2 separate regions of the Homo sapiens genome follow, and region 1 is linked to region 2. Evidence: promoter capture Hi-C in 16 types of primary human blood cells and fetal thymus (Javierre and others, 2016). All regions are on one chromosome and are shown on one strand. Each heading gives the region's core, a stretch centred on a gene start or on the middle of the fragment in contact. The rest is flanking DNA. Distances are from core to core; before and after follow the strand shown. Region 1 holds the start of LOC102723791 (a long non-coding RNA gene). Region 2 holds the start of HSPB1 (heat shock protein family B (small) member 1).

Region 1 (6,958 bases), core at 113-2,612, 970 kb after region 2:
CAACACAGGAGAAAAGTGCAAGCCGTTACAACAGAAATGTAATGGTGAAATTTTAGGTATCAACCAAAAAGTTGAGGCTTTTCTTTTGTGTAAGAAATTTCCAGCTACTAATCAAATGACTATATATAAGTAGCAAACTATCCCCACTATTATTAATAAATTACATATTTTTCTTTATCCTATACAATTTCATAAATGTACTCACATTTTATAATAACTATAATTTGAATAGTCATAGTATATTCATGTCTCCAAAGTGCTGGGTCATGAGTTAGATGAGTTAGGCAGATCATGGGTTCCAAGTCTACCTCCCTGGGTTTACACCTGCACCATTGAGGCAAGTTGCTTAAATGTGTTTGTGCCTCATTCTCTTCATCTGTACAATTGGAGAAAATATTCCCCACCTCATGAGGGGTATTGTAATGATGAAATAAGATCGTATACACAGGCATTTAGAACCTTGCTGGACACTTGGTTTATGTTCAATAAATGTTAGCTATTAGTAAGATTTATTTCTAAATAATAAACATTTGCAGCTGGCAAATTATAGATTTTTGGCAGGTCTTCATATTTTAATTTGCCATGGCTTATAAAGAATATTTGGCATAAAGGGAAGTTCTTATAAGATTGAGATTCGTGATTTGCTCAGCATTTTCAAAAAGTGTGTGATGAGGTTGACTACACAGCAGTGAATTTTATTTATTTATTTATTTATTTATTTATTTTCAGACAGAGTCTCACTCTGTCACCCAGGCTGGAGTGCAGTGGCACGATCTCAGCTCACTGCAACTTCTGCCTCCCGGGTTCAAGCAATTCTCTGCCTCAGCCTCCCAAAGATTTATTTCTTACATAAATGCATGTTTTTAAATTTTGATTTCCAGATGGAAGCTATCCCCAAAGATGATTCTACATTATCTGAGAGAAGGCGAGAGCTTCACAAGGAAGTTGAAGTAGCTAAGAGGAATTTGGCCCAACAGGTTAATATCAATGCTCATTTAAGCTTCTATCTAAGAAGCGTTCATACAAAGTTGTGCTTTTAACTGTGCTCCACAAAACCTTATCAATAAGAGAGTCATCAAAGAGAGTATGATCCTGCTTCATGTGGGCATATTTCTTCATCTCAAAGTCCACTCCAATCCTACACTAAATTTGAGAAAAAAGAATATGTTTGAACCGCAAAAAGTATTCAAAGGAATGAGATTTTTAAATTATGGGCTGTTGATTACATTAAAAGTAAACCACAGATGTTTTATTTCACCAATGTCTAATTTCAAATTTTCGTTTGTTTTTATGTGTCTTCTTTTTCTTAGTCACTTGAAAATACAGTCTAAATACAAAGAGGTTCTATCATGTTAACCCATCGATTTTCACATTATTTTACAAAATGAAAACAATGAAGCTAAAACACCATTACTTTATTTTTAATTTTTATTTTTTTTATAGAGAGGGATCTTGCTATGTTGCTCAGGCTGGTCTTGAACTGCTGGCCTCAAGTCATCATCCTGCCTCAGCCTCCCAAAGGCTTGAATTACAGGCGTGAGCCACCACACCTGGCCTGTTTAAAAAAATACATTTTGTATAGGAAGTAAAAAGGTAGTCTAAGATACTAGCTTTACTGTATTACTTCAAACAAATAACTTATAATATTATCTGTGTTTTTTTTCAAAAGAAAATTATATCAGAAATGGAGTCTAAGTTAGTAGAACAACAACTTGCAGAAGAAAACAAGCTTTTAAAGGAGCAAGAAAACATGAAAGAGCTAGTAGTCAACCTTCTCCGCATGACTCAAATCAAAATTGATGAAAAGGAACAAAAGTCCAAGGATTTCCTGAAAGCTCAGGTAACTGCATTTTTTTAACCATTCATTGATAACTACAAGAGTTCAGGGTAGCCTCATTATAATGCCACGTGCATTAGGACATGGATGAAGCTAGAAACCATCATTGTCAGCAAACTATCGCAAGGACAAAAAACCAAACATTGCATGTTCTCACTCATAGATGGGAATTGAACAATGAGAACACTTGGACACAGGAAGGGGAACATCACACACCGGGGCCTGTTGTGGGGTGAGGGGAGCGGGGAGGGATAGCATTAGGAGATATACCTAATGTAAATGATGAGTTAATGGGTGCAGCACACCAACATGGCACATGTATACATACGTAACTAACTTGCACATTGTGCACATGTATCCTAGAACTTAAAGTATAATAAAAATATATAAATATTAAAAAAAGAACTGGAAGGAAACTCAAAAAAAAAAAGAAAAGCTATACAATTGACCCTTGAACAACATGGATTTGAACTGCATGGGTCCATTTATACACAGATTTTTTTCAACCAAATGCAGATCAAAAGTAGAGTACTCACAGAATACAAAACCTGCAAATATGGAAGGCCCACTTTTCTTACAGGTGAGTTCCACAGGGCCAACTTTGGGACTGCTTGAATATGCTTGGATTTTTGTATTCTCAAAGGGTCCTGGAACCAGTTCCCTATGTATACCAAGGAACCACTATAACTGTGCCTCTCCTTCAAGTACCAGTGACTATAAATCTTCCCTAAATGAGATTCAATCATGCACTGAAAGATAGTCCCAAGATTCAATTAACAGTAATCAACAATTTAGATGGGAAAGGAGATCATTGATAATGATCGGAGGATTTGAACAGATGGCAATTTCAGTAAGAATAAAGTGGGTGCCTCCAGTGGACAGGGCTGGCAGCTGCATAGGCTGCAGATATCATTTAGTTTTCACTCCCATCTCAGACTCCACTGTGATTTGTCCAGGAACAACTCAAGAGTGGTAGCATTAGGTAACTGTCCCTCCCAACTTCATCAAGACAGCATCATTTAATCGAATGCCAGATACCCTTAGTTGCTTCATCACACCATGATTTTCCTGGGCCTCCTACAAAGTGCCAGTGCAACATTCCCCCCTAAAATCAACAATAAAACAAATGGTAAGGCAGCACTCCTGTCATGCAAGCTAAAATTCTACCATTAGAATTGTTTATTCCATATAAGGATTATGTCCAGATCATGCCCAGAAGCTCCCTGTTAAAAATAAACAGGATATTACATATTACTAAAATAGAAGAATTTATCAGGCCAGGCATGGTGACTCATGCCTGTAATCTCAGCACTTTGGGAGGCTGAGGCGGGTGGATAACTTGAGGTCAGGAGTTTGAGACCAGCCTGACCAACATGGTGAAACCCCATCTCTACTGAAATACAAAAATTAGCCAGGCATGGTGGCAGGTGCCTGTAATCCCAGCTACTTGGGAGACTGAGGCAGGAGAATCGTTTGAACCTAGGAGGTGGAGGTTGTAGTGAGCCAAAATCGCACCACTGCATTCCAGCCTGGGTGACAGAGCGAGACTTCCTCTCAAAAATAAAAAAAAAAAAGAATTTATCTCATGACCCAGATGTGGTCTGTTTGGTCTGTTTCTAAGCACATCCCTTGTTCTCAGTCTAAGTAAGGATTTACATAGAATGGTATTTCTTCTCATTCTGCAGAAAGAGCTCACTCACGCCAAAGCATTAGTGAGCAATGAGGTATGAAGTAGATTTTTGCAAAAAAGAGAAGATCTACATTGCACAACCCACTGCAGGCACTTCACATCCCCCTTTCACTGTTTATTTTTCTACTTTAATATTTAAGAAACTAAAAGAAGTTCAGGATGGCTGGCACATGGGAAGATGGGGAGAAAGGATGTCAAATAGTGAGACCAGAGAGCGGGACAAGTCAGATGATGAAAGTCACTTAATCCATGTTAAACAATTTAGACTCCATAATGAAGGCTGCAGCAAGAGTGAAGTTCATGGAGTAGTTGGGTTTCACTAGGTAAAGAAGTGGTCAGGGAGGACTGGATGAAAGAAAGGCAGCTTCAAAGCACAGGGTGGCTAAGCGGGTAAGATGCAGGAGCAGGACAAGGAGAGGAGAGAGGAGAGATGTGGGAAGATCATCTTGGGCCAGGAGCGGTCTCTCACGCCTGTAATCCCAACACGTTGGGAGGCCAAGGCGGGTGGATCACCTGAGGTCAGGAGTTCAAGACCAGCCTGCCCAACATGGTGAAAGCCCATCTCTACTAAAAGTACAAAAAATTAGCCTGGCGTGGTGGTGGGCACCTGTAATCCCGGCTACTCAGGAGGCAGAGGCATGAGAATCGCTTGAACCCAGGAGGCGGAGGTTGCAGTGAGCTGAGATTGCGCCACTGCACTCCAGCCTGGGTGACAGAGCGAGACTCTGTCTCAAAAACGAAAAATAAAGAATAAGAAGGAAGGAAGGGAGGGAGGGAAGGAAGGAAAAGAAGGAAGAAGAAAGCCATCTTCACCAAGTCAGGGTCTGGGACAACTTGGTGTTGGCTGGGAAGATCCCACTCAAGTGAGTCTTTCCTAGTTAGAAACTTCCTCCCTTTTCTCTTTAGAAATTACAGAAACACCAGAGGTATACTTATTTGTTATAAGAAACACTGATCCGTTTTATGAATTAGATAATTTTCAATTAATTTCAAAAACTGATATACATGTATATCTATGTGTGACTAATCTATGTAAAGCAAACCTCATTATTAAATGAGCTAATTTGTATTAAACCAAAATAGACAATTCTTCTTGAGATACAGAAATTGATAAAGGACAAATGTTTATCCCTTGAGTATTTTTAGCATTAGGAATTAGTGTGTTAAACATTACCTGTACTTAGCTGCAGTTTCCATAAGAAGGCAATCTTTTATGTTCACATTGCATCCACATCCCTAAAGACAAAGGTGAAGAAAAAAAAACAATGTCACTATCACCCCTAAGACAGAATAGATGACACTACATTTTCCCATCTGTTTTATTATTCATGTGTACAGTTACTTAAATATTCGTTTCTTCCTGACCCCTATTCTCATGGAGAACAGCATTAGAAAAATGCTACACATCAATCTTGGCTCTATGGCTAGTTTCTTTCAAATCACTCATACCAAAAGGGCTTTGCTCTCAGTCCTTGAGAGAAGGCTGACAAACTCTTTCCTCTGGTTTACTACCAGCAAATCCTTCATTTTTGAATATGTTTCTTATCCCAGATGCAAGAACCAGTATCTTTTGATTTGAAGAACATAACTAGTGTATTTAGCACTTGATATATTTTTTAGAACTCTAGAAATATAACTGCTTTCTTTTAAAATATTTATGTGTAACACCTCCTTACAGCTGATCTCAATATGATGCCTTATTATGTAGGAAAACACCCCACATACAAAAGAATGGAAAGCACTTTAAAATCATTGCTTCAGTCTCTGACAAAACACCACAGAGGGTTCAGTTTATAACACTCACCAAAACTTACTAGGAATCCTCTTCTCTCATCTATTTTCCATAAACTACACTCACCCAGTCCAGCTGTGTGGTTCAAAATCACTCTTCCTCTCTCTCAAAAGTTGTCCAAACTTTTCCTCAAACCCAAGCCATGCAGGCTCTTTGCGTTTTCTCTTCTCTCGTTTGTTCTCTTCTTTAGGTAACAGTTAACAGTTTGTCTTAGCCAATGTGAATCAGTTCAGCTAGCCAGGGAATTTTCAGATCTCTTTTACCCTTCACCCTGATCTGTACAACCCAGCAAGCCAAGAAATAATTTTTTTTTTTTTTTTTTTTTTTTTGGAGAGACAGGATCTTACTTTGTCGCCCAGGCTGGAGCGGAGTGATGCAATCATGGCTCACTGCAGCCTCGAATTCTTGGGCTCGAGCGATCCTCCCACCTCAGCCTCCTGAGTAGCTGGGACTACAGGTGCACACCACCATACCCAGATAATTTTTTTATTTTTGTAGAGATGAGGTCTCACTATGTTGCCTAGGCTGGAGAATTGTCTTTAATGGAAGGGAATGATGTGGGATAAATCTGGGAGTGTTCATATGTTGTTATTTATTTCACATTTTTTTGTACATTTCAGCAAAAATACACCAACATTGTTAAAGAAATGAAAGCAAAGGATCTTGAAATCAGGATACACAAGAAGAAAAAATGTGAAATTTATCGGAGGTAAAGTAATTATGTGGTGTTTTATCTACGTAGGTGAGGGGAAAAAAACCTGATGTTCATTTCATAAGTTTCAGTAAACACTTTGTATTTTTACAGACTGAGAGAGTTTGCTAAACTGTATGACACCATTCGAAATGAAAGAAACAAATTTGTTAACTTACTCCACAAAGCTCATCAGAAAGTAAATGAAATAAAAGAAAGGCATAAAATGTCATTAAATGAACTTGAAATTCTGAGAAATAGTGCCGTTAGTCAAGAAAGGTAAGTGTTATAATAACTATTGGCCTTTCAAAGGCTTGTTTTCTGATTCATTTGAACTCTAAAAATCCTGGGGATAAGAAGATAGGAAAGAGGCAGAGGCTGCAATGAGCCAAGATGGTGCCACTGCCCTCCAGCCTGGGTGACAGAATGAGACCCTGTCTCAAAAAAATAATAAAAATAAAAAATAAAAAGAATAGTATTTTAGAAAGCCAGAATTAGAAATCCAGAAAAAGCCCTTGTTCAAACATCTTGTTTTATAGATGATAATCTACCATGCTTCTACTCTTTGGGAGTCATTTTTTTAATGAATGAAAAACCATAACATATAACTATGCTTACTATGATGATTTTCACCTGCCCAATTAGAAAGAAAAGCACAAATCTAATAATTGGGATTGGGAAGTTAGAAAACAATCAAATCGTTTGTTAACCAACATCCCCTGATTGTAGATGTAAAGCATCTCATGTGTTGTGGGAGGCAATACGTTATAGCAGATTGGTGAAAGAGGTGGTGTCCAGACTCAAATACCACCCCTCCCACTTATTACCTCTGTAACCTTGGACAAGCTGCTTTGTCTCTCTGAGCTCACTTTCCTTATCCATACCATATTTCATGCGACATTTTACTGTGAAATGAGCTAATTCATATAAAAACACTCAGAAAAGCGT
Region 2 (7,006 bases), core at 4,507-7,006:
ACACATTCACGCACTTGAAACTGACCACAATGCTGTCAGACGGGCAGGGGCGTTGCTAGCTCTACTTTGCAAATAGGGACATGTGGGCTCAGAGTGGTCACCAGGACAGCAGCACCCACATTCAAGCCCAGCCCTATCTGTCCCCAAAACCCAGTTTCTGCCCTACCACCCACCTCACCCCCATGCTGCCAGAAACCACCCATCTCCTCTCCCTTGTGGGTGATCTAAAAGTCGTCCCTCAAGAACTGAGCCCTTAGCCAGGCTGGTCTTGAACTCCTGACCTCAAGCAATCCACCCACTTCGGCCTCCCAACGTGTTGGGATTACAGCTGTTAGCCACCGCGCCCAGCCCGTGGTGGTGCACGCCCGTAGTCCCACCTACTCAGGAGGCAGGAGAATTGCTTGAACCTGGGAAGCAGAGGTTGTAGTGAGCTGAGATTGTGCCACTGCACTCCAGCCGGCGCAACAGAGCAAAACTCCATCTCAAAAAAAACAAAACTGAGCCCTTGAAGATGAACGTGAATTCCGAGGGAGTGAGCAGAGTGTGTGGGTTTGGTGCCTTGAGTTGCACAATCTCTCAGGCAGCAGGAATAGATCCAGTCCGTCCTGGTTTCAGGCAAGATGAAGGGAGCTTGTGTCTACAAAGGGCTGGCAGCTCCCATCCAGAGCATGGCTGGGCCTGATAGAGCCACACCTGGAAGCATTTATAACCACACCTGACAGCTCCCTCTGGGGTGGGGCACCCCCAGCTCCCGTCTGGGCCAAGGTGAGCAGGCAGAGGCAGATGAGGGCCCTCCCTGGCTCCTGACCTCACCTCGACTTTATACAGCTGGGGATGGGTGGGGCTGGGAGCACTGGGGAGCAAAAACCTGGGGCTTTCTGATGCTGTCCCATGGGGTGTCAACCAGGAGCTCCCAAATGAGACCCACTGGGCTCATGACAATGACCCAGCCAGGGAGGTGAGGTAGAAGGCAGGGGTCCTGTCTGCCTCCCACCATTGGCTCCCGAGAGCCCCAGGAGTTCAGAGGCCTTTCCAGGAGTGATCTCAGATTCATGGTCCAGCCCCAGCTCTTCCCTGATGGGGAGCAGGTGGGTAAGACAGAAAGGCATCTAGGGCCGGTGGCTCACACCTGTAATCCCAGCACTCTGGGAGGCGAGGCAGGTGGATCACGAGGCCAGGAGATCAAGACCATCCTGACTAACACAGTGAAACCCTGTCTCTACTAAAAAAAAAAAAAAAACAATACAAAAAATTAGCCGGGCGTGGTGGTGGGCGCCTGTAGTCCCAGCTACTCTGGAGGCTGAGGCAGGAGAATGGCGTGAACCCGGGAGGCGGAGCTTGCAGTGAGCCAAGATCGCACCACTGCACTCCAGCCTGGGTGACAGAGTGAGACTCCGTCTCAAAAAAAAAAAGAAAGAAAGAAAGGCATCTAGGTCGGGCGCAGTGGCTCACGCCTGTGATCCCAGTGCTTTGGGAGGCCTAGGCAGAAAGATCTCTTGGGGCCAGGAGTTCAAGACTAGTCTGGGCAACATGGTGCGACACCTGTCTCTACAAAAAATTTAAAAATTAGCCAAGTGTGGTGGCACACATCTGTAGTCCCAGTGACTCAGGAGGCTGAAGCAGAAGAATCACTTGAGCCCAGGAGGTCAAGACTGCAATGAGCTATGATCACTCCACTGCACTCCAGCCTGGGCAACACAGCGAGACTCTGTCTCAACAAAAAAAAAAAAAAAAAAGGAGAGAGAGAAAGGCATTTATGAGCTCTCTCTCAAAAAGGAAACTGAGGCTCAGAGAAGGCATGAGGACTTGCTGCTTCCCCAGCTCATCAAGGTGAGTGGCCTGGAGTCTGCCCCGATTCTGGGCCTGGGCAGGGCAAGACTTCAGTGGCCTTGGCTCCCCATAGAAGTAGGAGGAGTGGAGCCTCAGTCCCAGGATAGGGACAGCAAGTACAGTGGGACAGAAGAAGTGGGAGGCCCTGGGTACTAGAGAGGCAGGAGGTTGGCTCTGAGAGCACTTTACCGGAGACAGCAGAAAGCCATTTAATCTCTGTGCACAGCAGTTTCCTTGTCTAAAAACCAGGGATAACAGGGCCGGGTGCGGTGGCTCACACCTGTAATCCCAGCACTTTGGGAGGCCGAGACAGGTGGCTGACTTGAGGTCAGGAGTTTGAGACCAACATGGCGAAACCCTGTTTCTACTAAAAATACAAAAATTAGCCGGGTGTGGTGGCTCATGCCTGTAATCCCAGCACTTTGGGAGGCCAAGGCAGGCGGCTCACTTGAGGTCAGGAGTTTGAGACCAACATGGCGAAACCCCGTTTCTACTAAAAATACAGAAATTAGCCGGGTATGGTGGCACATGCCTGTAATCCCAGCCACTTGGGAGTCTGAGGCAGGAGGATCGCTTGAACCCAGGAGGCGGAGGTTGCAGTGAGCTGAGATTGCGCCACTGCACTCCAGCCTGAGTGATAGAGTGAGACTCTGGCTCAAAAAAAAAAAAAAAAAAAAGACAAAAAAAAAAAAAACAACAACAACTAAAACAGGGACCTAAGTCAGGGGAGAAGGAAGGCTGGAATGGCCATGCCTACAAAGACAGGAAAGAGGGAATGTCAGGGTTGTGGCAGGAGCCTAGGGCAGCACCCTCCCTCCAAGCTGGGAGATAGGAGCCAGGATCCCATTGGTGTTTAGATGGATGAGGTAGGGTCAAGGGGCAAGCTCCAGGCTCTAAGCACTTCTGTGCAGACTCTACTACTTGGAGCTCCCCTCTCCCTCTGTGATGTGGGCATCAAAATCTGCAGAAAGGGAAACTGAGGCCTAGAGAAAGGAGGGGATTTGCCCAGAATGACACAGGAAGTCCAGACTAATTCAAGTTTGCGGCATTTGAGGTTCCTGGCCAGTGTTTCTTTTTCTTTTTTGTTTTTTCTTTTTTGTTTGAGACAGAGTCTCGTTCTGTCACCGAGGCTGGAGTGCAGTGGCGCGATCTCAGCTCCCCGCAACCTCTGCCTCCTGGAATGATCCTCGTGCCTCAGCTTCCCCAGTAGCCGGGATTACAGGCACCCATCACACCTGGCTAATTTTTTGTATTTTTGGCAGACACGGGGTTTCGGCATGTTGGCCAGGCTGGTCTTGAACTCCTGAACCCAGGCAATAAGTCTGCCTCAGACTCTCAAAGTGCTGGGATTACAGGTGGGAGCCACCACGCCCGGCCAACCAGTGCTTCTTAAGGAAAGATACATATAGTAGGAGATGTGACAGTAATCTTCCTCCTGGCCCCTCTCAGCACTGTGCCATGGAGGTTCTGATCTGGGCCAGCTGCGCTGTTAGGGGAAGGGGGAAAATGGCCAAACCCCATGTATTCTCCTTCCTTTTCCCTCTCTTCAATCCCAGGCAGGTAACAATAATTATGATGTACCAGGCTCCGGGCCAAAGTCATCACCTGCATTAGGTCACCAAATCCTCAGGCCAACCCATTACAGTCATGAGTCACTTAATAACAGACACATTCAACAAATTCCTTGTTAGGCAATTTCATCATTGTGGGAACATCTCAGAGTGGACTTACACAAACCTAGATGGTCTAGCCTACTACACACCTAAGCCATATGGTCTAGCCTACTGCTCCTAGGCTACAAACCTCTACAGCATATGACTGCACCAAATATTGAAGGCAGCTGCAACATGAGGGTAAGTATTAGTGTTTCTAAAGATAGAAGATGGCCAGGCGCGGTGGCTCACGCCTGTAATCCTAGCACTTTGGGAGGCCCAGGCGGGTGGATTACTTGAGGTCAGGAGTTCAAGACCAGCCTGGCGAACATGGTGAAACCCCATCTGTACTAAAAATACAAAAATTAGCCAGTGTCGCGGCACTTGCCTGTAGTCCCAGCTACTCAGGAGGCTGAGGCAGAAGAATCACTTGAACCTGGGAGGTAGAGGTTGGAGTGAGCCTAGATCAGGCCACTGCACTCCAGCCTGGGCGACAGAGGGAGACTCCATCTCAAAATAAATAAATAAATAAATAAATAAAACATAGAAGATGTACAGTAAAAACACGGTAATTGTTTTTGTTTGTTTGTTTTGAGACAGGGTCTTGTTCTGTCATGCGGACTGGAGTGCAGTGGCACCATCAGGCTCACTGCAGCCTCGACCTCCTTGGCTCAAGTGCTCCTCCCACCTCAGCCTCCTGAGTATCTGGGACTACAGGTCCACGCCACCATGCCTGGCTAATTTGTTCTGAATTTTAGTAGAGATGGGGTCTCACTGTGTTGCCCAGGCTTGTTCCAGCCTTCTGGCTTCAAGTAATCCTCCCACATCAGCCTCCCAAAGTGCTAAGATTACAGATGTCAGCCACTGCACCCAGCCAGTAATATAATTTTATGGGACCACCTTCATATTTGCTGTCCCTTGCTGACTTACACATCTTTATGCAATGCATGACTGTTACCATCATTATCATCTCTATTTTCCAGATGGGGAAACTGAGGCACAAAGAATCTAACTTGCACAAGTTCATCTGCTTAGTGATGGAACAAAGATGTGAATTCAGGCAGTCTGGCTTCAAAGTCCACACGCCTAACAACCACACCAGATTACTAGATTGCTTTTTTCTTTTTTCTTTTTTTTTTTTTGAGATGGAGTCTCACTCTGTCACCCAGGCTGGAGTACAGTGGTGAGATCTCGGCTCACTGCAACCTCTGCCTTCTGGGTTCAAGCAATTCTCCTGCCTCAGCCTCCCCAGCAGCTGCGATTACAGGCGCCCGCCACCACACCCAGCTAATTTTTGTATTTTTAGTAGAGATGGGGTTTCACCATGTTGGCCAGGCTGGTCTCAAACTCCTGACCTCTGGTGATCCTCCCACCTCGGTCTCCCAAAGTGCTGGGATTACAGGCGTGAGCCACCACGCCCAGCCCAGACTGCTTTATTTTTGTATTTGTATTTATTCATTTACTTATTTTGAGACAGGGTTTTGCTCTGTAGCCCAGGCTGAAGTGCAGTGGTGCAATCCAGCTCACCACAGCCTCTACTCACCGGGGTTCAAAGGATCCTCCTGCTTCAGCCTCTGGAGTAGCTGGGGCCACAGGCATGCACCACCATGCCCAGCTAATTTTTAAATATTTTTTGGTAGAAGTAGGGTCTCACTATGTTGCCCAGACTGGTCTCAAACTCCTAGCCTCAAGGGACCCTTCTGCCTTGGCCTCCCAAAGTGCTGAGATTACAGGCATGAGCCATGCACCCAGCCCCTTTTTAAAATTTTTTTGAGAGACAAGACTTTGATCTGTTGCCTAGGCTGGAGTGCAGTGGTGAGATCATAGCTCACTGCAGCCTCAACTCCTGGGCTCAAGCACCAGACTCCTTTTATCACATTCTATCTCACACGCGTGTGGTTCCAATCCTGCCTCTGCCACTTCTCAGTTGTATGCCCCAACCCAACCTGTCTGGCTCTGTCCTCCTTAACAGAAGGACGGCCCTGGCCACGGGCCACAGCCAGCAACGCTTAAGCACCAGGGCCGGCGAGTGCCCTGCCGTGGCACGGCTCCAGCGTCGCGCTCTCGAATTCATTTGCTTTCCTTAACGAGAGAAGGTTCCAGATGAGGGCTGAACCCTCTTCGCCCCGCCCACGGCCCCTGAACGCTGGGGGAGGAGTGCATGGGGAGGGGCGGCCCTCAAACGGGTCATTGCCATTAATAGAGACCTCAAACACCGCCTGCTAAAAATACCCGACTGGAGGAGCATAAAAGCGCAGCCGAGCCCAGCGCCCCGCACTTTTCTGAGCAGACGTCCAGAGCAGAGTCAGCCAGCATGACCGAGCGCCGCGTCCCCTTCTCGCTCCTGCGGGGCCCCAGCTGGGACCCCTTCCGCGACTGGTACCCGCATAGCCGCCTCTTCGACCAGGCCTTCGGGCTGCCCCGGCTGCCGGAGGAGTGGTCGCAGTGGTTAGGCGGCAGCAGCTGGCCAGGCTACGTGCGCCCCCTGCCCCCCGCCGCCATCGAGAGCCCCGCAGTGGCCGCGCCCGCCTACAGCCGCGCGCTCAGCCGGCAACTCAGCAGCGGGGTCTCGGAGATCCGGCACACTGCGGACCGCTGGCGCGTGTCCCTGGATGTCAACCACTTCGCCCCGGACGAGCTGACGGTCAAGACCAAGGATGGCGTGGTGGAGATCACCGGTGAGCCCCCCTGCTCCTGCAGGGGAGAGGAGGAGGCTAGCAGGGCGGGCAGGGCCGGGGGCGTGCGGTTGAAACGGGGGTCCCGGGGGCCTGGGGAGTTAAACGTTGGCCCAGCACCGGGAAAAACAGGACTCCTGATTCCCTTGCTCAGGAATTGGGAGTGCGGGTCGCTTCTAAGGGCGCTTTCTGCTCTGTAATCCCAGCGCTTTGGGAGGCCGAGACGGGAGGATCGCTTGAGGCCAGGAGTTCAAGACTAGCCTGGGCAACATAGCGAGACGCGCCCCCCCGCCCCGACCCCGCGCCATTACAAAAAAAAAGCAAACAAAAATTTTTTTAAAGATCATCGATGAAGAGAGAAAATGCGCTTTTCTACAGAGTCCCCTTCCCACCCACAGCCCCATCCCCAGATAAGCGGGGAGTTCCCTGGCGCGGTGCCAGTTTCTAGCCGCTGAGTGGGCGTGTGCGCGGCTCCAAGTGCGCCTGCGTACTGCTCACTCCCCAGCTCCGCGCCCTGCTCCGTTCCTCCCAAAACTCTGAATCGAAGAACTTTCCGGAAGTTTCTGAGAGCCCAGACCGGCGGGCACGCCCCCATCCCCAACCCCCTCTGTTAATCCCTACCAGCCTGCAGTCCTGGCTGCTTCCAAGCAGGAGGTGGGGCCTCTGGCCTAGCGGGGCCGAAAGGCAGTCCCCTCCCCCGCAGTCTGATTTCCCTCTTCCCCCCAAAGGCAAGCACGAGGAGCGGCAGGACGAGCATGGCTACATCTCCCGGTGCTTCACGCGGAAATACACGTGAGTCCTGGCGCCAGGTCGGGGTGGGTGGGTGGCGTGGGGGTGGGGTCAGGGAAG

What was found. The method cuts DNA at HindIII sites, captures the fragments that hold promoters and counts their contacts. A CHiCAGO score of 5 or more calls a contact.
Region 1: a fragment that was not itself captured here is called in contact with the fragment with the promoter of HSPB1 in region 2 in 1 of 17 cell types (total B cells); the score reaches 5.0 in total B cells.

Annotation. Positions count from the first base shown.
Region 1 is chr7:77,272,813-77,279,770 of GRCh38, forward strand. It overlaps CCDC146 (coiled-coil domain containing 146), which reads left to right. Exons shown (of 19, transcript NM_020879.3): 10 at 882-977; 11 at 1,670-1,840; 12 at 5,940-6,028; 13 at 6,125-6,289. LOC102723791 (a long non-coding RNA gene) reads right to left here and starts at 5,540. Exons shown (of 6, transcript XR_927688.3): 1 at 5,332-5,540; 2 at 4,702-4,763. The HindIII fragment of the contact is 729 bases long and covers 999-1,727 here.
Region 2 is chr7:76,296,917-76,303,922 of GRCh38, forward strand. It overlaps HSPB1 (heat shock protein family B (small) member 1), which reads left to right and starts at 5,757. Exons shown (of 3, transcript NM_001540.5): 1 at 5,757-6,160; 2 at 6,886-6,949. The coding sequence starts at 5,797. RefSeq lists a silencer at 2,496-2,790. The HindIII fragment of the contact is 12,431 bases long and covers 1-7,006 here.